2 separate regions of the Homo sapiens genome follow, and region 2 is linked to region 1. The links are contacts of gene promoters, found by promoter capture Hi-C in blood cells and fetal thymus (Javierre and others, 2016). All regions are on one chromosome and are shown on one strand. The core of a region is centred on a gene start or on the middle of the fragment in contact, and the rest is flanking DNA. Distances in the headings are between cores, read along the strand shown.

What was found. Contacts are between HindIII fragments. The CHiCAGO score rates a contact against its expected background, and 5 or more counts as called.
Region 2: a fragment that was not itself captured here is called in contact with the fragment with the promoter of FEM1B in region 1 in 1 of 17 cell types (non-activated CD4 T cells); the score reaches 5.0 in non-activated CD4 T cells.

Annotation. Positions count from the first base shown.
Region 1 is chr15:68,275,646-68,279,526 of GRCh38, reverse strand. It overlaps FEM1B (fem-1 homolog B), which reads right to left and starts at 1,782. Exons shown (of 2, transcript NM_015322.5): 1 at 862-1,782. The coding sequence starts at 1,109. RefSeq lists enhancers at 943-1,142, 885-1,786 and a silencer at 1,173-1,502. The HindIII fragment of the contact is 2,784 bases long and covers 186-2,969 here.
Region 2 is chr15:67,523,672-67,527,552 of GRCh38, reverse strand. It overlaps C15orf61 (chromosome 15 open reading frame 61), which reads right to left. Exons shown (of 2, transcript NM_001143936.2): 2 at 1-1,135. The coding sequence ends at 1,008. Among named protein-coding and RNA genes, the nearest start is that of IQCH-AS1, 3.8 kb to the right of the region's middle. The HindIII fragment of the contact is 1,999 bases long and covers 855-2,853 here.

The DNA.
Region 1 (3,881 bases), core at 533-3,032:
GTTATACAGTTGTAATCTGTAAAACGTGTTATAATCCTCCAGCATAGAAAAGAGGATAATGTCAAACCTGACAATTCTGGTCAAATACCCAAAAATTCGTACAATTAAACTCAAAGGGCAAATCTTAGGCATAACAATGTGCATTTTTAAACTTCCCACCTCAACTAACAGTAAATGATCAAGCTTCCCCACAACATCACGGGATAAGATGTAATTTAAGAATGGCATCATCTCCCACATCAGGTCCAATGCCATCTTAGTAGCCAATATATCTACACCGAGCAACGTGGAGGAATCAGAATCATGTCTTGAGATGTCTGGCTGCGTGACAATCCCTCATGATGCTGCAGCTGCTGCTGGTTCTAGGTGCTTATTTTGACATTAAAGCCCAGCAGCCCACTGAAGGTTTTACGGAACCACTCACTTGAAGGGAGTAAAAATGGATGCCCAAATAACTCTTTCGGAGTTCTTCAATGTTAACCGCTGACCTCCTTAATTTCTGATCAGTTACATCACCAGTTCCACTAAAAGTAAAACCTGGAAAGGCAGCCACCTCCTCCAAATGGCTTGTTCACAGACTATCTAGTAGAGAAGACGACTATTAGATTTCAAGGCCGAGGGTGTGGTTATCTTCCCACAGAGGGAATGAGGGGTAGGGGCTGATGAGGACGGGCAGCAAAACATGGGATGGATTATTAGCCCTGGAAGATGAAGTGGGCATTAGTGGGGCAGGAGGTGGTACAAAAAGGGGAGAAGTGAGTACCTACATGAAGAGAGGGTAAGAGAGGGTGAGGGAGGGGAGGGCCCGTGAATTAACGAGTCCGCGCGCGTCGGAGAGAGGCTGGCTTGGGATGTACCTACCCGTCGAAGCGGACGGTGCCAGTCTGCTGAGTCTGCACCCGGTAATGTTCTAAGAGCAAGCGTACCACCTTTGCGTGTCCATTGCGGGCTGCGATGATGAGGGGCGTGGAGCGCTGCCCTCCCTGCTGGCTGACATAGCCAAGCAGATAGCGGATGTCGCTTTCAGACCGGTTGAGAAGCAAGGCGGCCAGAGTCAGCACCTTGCCCTCGCTGGCCGCCTTGTATACATAGCCAGCCAGGCCCTCCATGGCCGCCGCCAACTCCAACACCCGTTTGGTCGCCACCGCTGCAGCTGCCGTGCGCCCCCGGAGGCCGCGTTCGCCAGCGCTTTAAACCTGGGCCCTCACAGCCCATTCAACAGGGCGCCGTCGCCGCCGCCGCGCCCAGGCAGCAGTGCGGCCCAGGGAAGGCGGAGACGCAGAGGAGGCCGAGTGCCGCGAAGGGCACGTCCGCGACCCAGCCCGCGCAGGGAGGAAGGCGGTCAGGGCCGCCCGCCAGGTCCCAGGCGCCGGCCCTGGACCGAGGGGATCTCCATGGCGGACGCCGCCCCGGGCCTCAGGCCGGACCCCTCCTTCCTGCGGGATGCGACAGGCGCGTGCCCGAGCTACGGGTCGCCGGCCGGGTCCCGAGAGGACCTCGCGCACCCCGGATGGCGAAAGATGGGCGCGTCTCTCCTGACCCGGCCCACCCGGCCTAAGGCCTAACACTGCCTCCTCCTGCGCTTTCCGCCCTTCGCCGTCCCTGACTGGAGGAAACCTGCAGGCTCTCGTCCGCCGAGCTCAGAAGTGCCAGGCGCTGCCAACGGCCCCGGAGATCCTCGCGTAGGGGCCCCCGGGGCGATGCGGAACGCTCCCGCAAGAGCGGCGCCGGAACTTGGGCGGGGAGGAAGACGAGCTTTCGCAGACAGGGCCGGGAGGAGAGGGCGGGAGCGGGAGGGACGCTAAGTGGGGTGTCTCCGCCTAAGCCGACCGGCGGGCACACGCGGGCCCGGTAGAGAAAGGTTCTGCTGCGCGTAGTTGGCCCATCCCGTTTGGGCCTGGATGTCCTCAATGTCCTTGACTCCTGGAACCTCCTCCTGGCCCCTAAACGGCCCTGAGGGTCTCCAGCCAGGGAGTGGGGGCGGAGTGAGGGCGCTAAGCTGATGGGCTAAGGAGACCACCCTATTTTACTATAGACGGTGCGGGTCCTGCTTCTGCCCCTGAGCCGGGGTTAGGGAAGGGGTTGCGCGTACTCGGAGGGTCCATTTCAGGAAAAGGGCGGCGTTTCTGAGTTCCCGAAATGTGGGAGGGCTTGAGAGCCACAACACCAGGCTCTGAGAAGGGACTGGAAGTACGGCCTGACTTTCCCGGAGAAAGGGGTTAAGTGTGAGAGAAAGATGGGAGCGAAGGGGAGCTGCGCTCGCGGTGGAAGGAGCGAGGTATCCTGGGAAGGAAAGCGAGTCCCGCGTTCAGACAGAGCAGGAATCTCATCCTGAGCCGGCAGAACCTCCGTTTTCTCACAGACATCACAAGATTGTTGTTAGGATTTGAAACGATCGTTTATCCAATGAATATTAGAGGTCGACTACGTGCCAGGCTCTGCTTAGCACTAGGGATTCAGTAATGGAACAAATAAGTCAACAAATGATAGACAAGATCAGTTGAACTGGTATCATTACCATTTGCTCTGAAGCAAATGAAATAGAATGATGGGGGCACTCATTTAGTTTGGGTGATCAGACAAGACCTCTATGACAAGTGACAAGAACAGACGGTATTCTAGGCAAAGGGGACAGCTAATATAAAAGTCCTGAGGAGGGAACAGTCTGGTGAGCTCGGAAACAGAAAGGTCAGTGTGGCTGCAGCAGAGTGGGCCACAGTAAGAATGATAGATGAAGTCAGAGGATGCAACACACGTTAGGGCCTAATAACCCATAGCAAAGGGTTTAAGTCTACTCTGTGATGGGGGCATTTGAAGGGTTTTAAAGAGGGAAGTGACAAGATGCTATTTGTGTTTTTTAAAAAGATCACTCTGGCTGCTGTATGGAGAATAAACTCTGGAAGGCAAGAGTAGATAGGGGGACAGGCCTTGGATTAGGATGGTAGGAGTGAATGGTAGGTGATGAAGCTTCTGGGACAGTCTCAAAAAACTCAATATGAAAGTGACTTCCTCCCTCTTCCTCCCTTCCCCAAAGGACAAAATTTACCATAGAGAAAGAACAAATGCATTTATGTGGCTCCAAGGGACTGGGCTCGGCTCAACAAGTTCACATACATTATTTTATTTGAACCCCACCATTCCAATTCTAGGAGGTAAAGGCCTCACTTCCATTGCAGCTATTGGTGGAGGTGTGGGTCACTTCTCAAATTCTCTCCATTCTACAGCTCAGCTTTACCCACTTATTGCAGATCCCTACAGAAACACGAGTTATTTTTCTCCTTACCATAAACAAAAACAGCATTGGCAATAAGGGCTGAAGGTAAGATTCTACTGGTAGCGTCTCTGAAATAGCTGATAGAGAAGTGGGGGAAGCTGGCTGGTTTATTTGGGGACTTCAGGGTCATGAAAAAACCCAGTGTTTGACAGGGACCCAGGCTTTTTGGTCTCGGATTCACACATTCAGATGTGTGATGACTTCCTTTTCTGGCTCCATACGGCAAGCATGCACCTCATCTACCATCTGTCTCCTCTCTGCCTTTCTATCTCTCTCTGTCTCTCCATATCTCTAACTCCGTCTCCCTACCACCCTCCCTCTCCTCTGCCAACACACTTTGATTACCTGGGCACAAGCTGACCTGGAGGAGTGCCTGGCTCTTTAGAAAAACCATCTCCTCATAGCCTTTTACCCTATTATGTTCCTGAATCATTCTACATTCTATTCCGAACCAACTTTCTGAAGAAGGTGATGTAAAAAAGTCCAGACACAGGCCCCTTCTTCCAGTTTTGTTTTCTAAGGGAGACCTGATTCATCCAGACTCATTGCTGAATAAGAGACTCCCTTCTTCCTCGTGCCCTCTCTACCTCAGTTTGGTGGTATAACT
Region 2 (3,881 bases), core at 605-3,104, 750 kb after region 1:
TTAAACACCCATTGGTTTAGAAATTAAATAGTTCTACTTAGTTCTCCCTAAATTACTCCAAATGTCTGAAATTTACCATTCATCTGGGTATTTTGTGACTACCCCAAGGATACATTTTTTTAAATGACTTGGCTTTCAAAAATGCAATTAAGTTAATAAAATTCAAATGCAAAAGTGCCATTAGGTCTTTAAAATTTCAGCCCACTCCTTATTGCCAATAAGTCTATGGATATGTACCATTTCAGTTAATTGCTTTTATAAACAGTTACCAAATTTATTTTTCTGCATCTTTCTAGAAGATCTTAATTGTTCTTACAGCTTTATAGGAAAGCTGTTTTAACTTTTAATAAGTCTGAGTTTCATTCACCTTGCTACACTTATATTAACCAGTTATTATTACATTTTACAAACGATATGGTTTTGGACTCTTTAAGCAACAAGAAGTTTCAACATTACACTCCAACCCCTCCTCCAGGTAAATGGCACAAGGCCTTTAAAACGTTTCTATTTACAATCCTGGCAGCTGAATGGTTTAGACTTGAGATTACAATTAGATTCTCATCAATTTTGGATTTGCCAATGATGTAATATTTCCATCATACATCCTAATGTCTTCTACTTCTTTTTCCATTGTTACATAAAAGATTTTCCCCCCTTCTCTTTTGTGTGGGCATCTATATTTTCTCTTCAGAGTTGATTTAAATTGTTAATTAACTATAGAATCTATTACATTGTAATCATTTTTTATCTGTAGGTTAACCTAGTTCTAGGGAAAAAATGGTGTGAAGCTTCATGTGTTTGTAGTTCACATCAGCTAAACAGAGTATGTAATATATAACGATGTATAAAAAGCTTCACCTCTTGAGGGCAATGATTCATCTTAAAGAAGCAGATACTGTAGAAAGAAAAAAGTATTTGCAAAAGTTTTATTTTAAAGGATCAAAAATAAATACTGCACATATACACAGAGAAAATCCACTGATATTTATGTTCTTTGACGCACACTTTCAATACATGGCACCTTCATCTTCTTTATTGAGAAAATAAACTGTTATGGGTCCATAACTGGTATGCACAGTCTCTGTGACTCTGGCAAATAACCAGGAGCCAAGTCCATATAATAAAGTTGGAATACCTAGAAAACAAACGAATATGTATAAACATCAATGCTTATTAATCATGCAAGTTACTGATCACGTATAACACTCTTCAGCAATGTTAACAAATTACAATGTGATAAAATATAAAAATATTAATCAACATTGACTCTGATTATCTAAGAGCTCAATTTCATCAACGTGGCACATGATGGCAATCACGTGAGTCCAGAGGTTTTCATACTATAGACAAGGCGGGTATAAATGTTAATTCGAGTACTTCATAAATTCATTACCCTCAAATAATCATGAAGTAATGCTATATTCTTTTCATAAATAAGAAAATGGAGAAGAATACTCATTAATTTAGTTGTAGACGCTCCTGATTATTAGCCTTGAGCTAAAATTACTAAGTTAACACTACTGTTTGTTTGTTTGTTTGTGAGATGGAGTCTCACTCTGTTGGCAGGTTGGAGTGCAGTGGCGCGATCTCGGCTCGCTGCCACCTCCGCCTCCTGGGTTCAAGCGATTCTCCTGCCTCAGCCTCCTGAGTAGCTGGGACTACAGGCGCGCGCCACCACGCTCAGATAATTTTTGTACTTTTTTAGTAGAGATGGGGTTTCACCATGTTGGCCAGGATGGTCTCGATCTCTTGACCTTGTGATCCTGGGCCTAGGCCTCCGAAAGTGCTGGGATTACAGGTGTGAGCCACCGCGCCCGGCCAACATTACTGTTCTTTAAGTTAGTAGTAACACTAATGGTTGAAGTAATTTTTGTACAACTTAAAAGAAGCTCGGTCAAAGAGCTGTCTTTAAAATCTAAAGCAAAACCTAACTCCAAGTAAGATTTCAGTACAACAGGCATGAGAAAAAAAACTATTATTAGCATTTTTTCAATTGATCTGAAAACAACCTCATTTCAACCAATTTGAAATAGATATATAGTAGACTCCAACATGTGTTTCTTCTTTGGAATTGATAAGATTTTGCTGCTTTGAGATTAGTTGCCATTTGTGATACATGAAACTAAACACACTATCCAGAGATATGTATTAAGCACTCACATGCATATAAGACTGTTGGCACAAAACAAACTTTCACAATTCCTATCTTTTTAAAGGTACTTATTTAAAATTAATGACTACTAACATATTAAAAACATATGTAATAAAACCATAGGCACATGAATCAATAACAAATACTGTATGCTCTGGACAAGCATTAATTTTATGCTCTTATGTGGGAAATGGGCAGAAAGTGACACTTTAAAAGGATAGCTGTACATTTGGAAAATCACTTTCTTTCTAGTAATAAAGAACGCGGCTGGGCACTGTGGCTCACGCCTGTAATCCCAGCACTTTGGGAGGCCGAAGCAGGCGGATCACCTGAGGTTGGGAGTTCGAGACCAGCCTGACCAACATGGAGAAACCCCGTCTCTACAAAAAATACAAAATTAGCTGGGCGTGATGGCGCATGCCTATAATCCCAGCCACTCAGGAGGCTGAGGCAGGAGAATTGCTTGAGCCCAGGAGGCAGAGGTTGCACTGAGCCGAGATCACACCACTGCACTCCAGCCTGGCGACAGAGGGAGACTCCATCTCAAAAAAAAAAAAAAAAAACAAACAAAAAAGCAACACATGCTCTGGACTAATCATATTGCTAAATTTTGGTCTTATTTTTCTGCAAGAATATATTTGCTGTGTTAAGCTCTTTTTGAGTGTGTTTGCTGAACCACTTTGTGCTTACTCCCTGAAGCTTCATTCCAGCCACTGTGATGCCAGAGATTAATCAGGAGAAGCATCACATCACTAGCTGGTAATGAGAAGGGGAAAAAAATGCCCATTCAGGCTGGCATCTCTCTATTTTTAGGAATATACTGGGTCACAGTTTGTCACCATCACAGGGTTCCCTGGAACTCCCATGAAACCTTTTATAGTGTATCACCTTCTTTGCCCTGATAATGTCCAAAAGAATCTCTGAATACCTCAAGGGAATGTCATAAAAAAATCCACAAAAACTAGAATAATAAAGCTACTTATAAATCATTTAACCACAAAGAAAAAAAAAGGCAAGTGGCTCAGGGGTGGGAGGTAGAAAAAGAAGAATATGAACAAGCTAGGCAGAAATGAGAGTGAAGTATAGGGAGTAGTTGAAATAAAAAATAAATTTAAAATGCAATATCACAACTTCAAAGCTGAAAATCAATGGAGTGAGGAAGAAAAAAAATAGGCTCTAGAAGCAATTACTAATTTTCTAAGCATACTGAGACTAAAATACATAAAATAGGCCTCTTAAACCAAGGCTAAGTATATAAATTTAAGGAATACCTGGTGACACTGACAATTTTCTTTTATAGTATTTATCATAGTTTTCAGTTAACATATTGATTTAAAAAATTCATACTTTTGAAAAATCACAAATACAGAAATAAACGGTCAATATATTTTCAGCTAAAATCAAGGGCTGATCAAAGATTACTAGCTTAATAACTATATTATGTCTTATTAAAAAATAACCAGCAACCATTAGCAGTGATGCTGTTTGACAGGAGATGGAGTTATGATCTGAGTCAGAAATTCTGTATTTTTTTCCCCTTGCTGTCTGTTTATTTAATGCAGTCAGACTAATACTCAAAATGGGAAGGTTTGCCACCTATATAACTTATATATTACAAAATCTTTGTAGCACACATGCTTTGAAGTCTATAAGATTCTATGAAAAATTCAATTTTTTCTGAAAAATTAAATTTATATCTGAAACATGTAACATCAAAAGAACCTCCAAA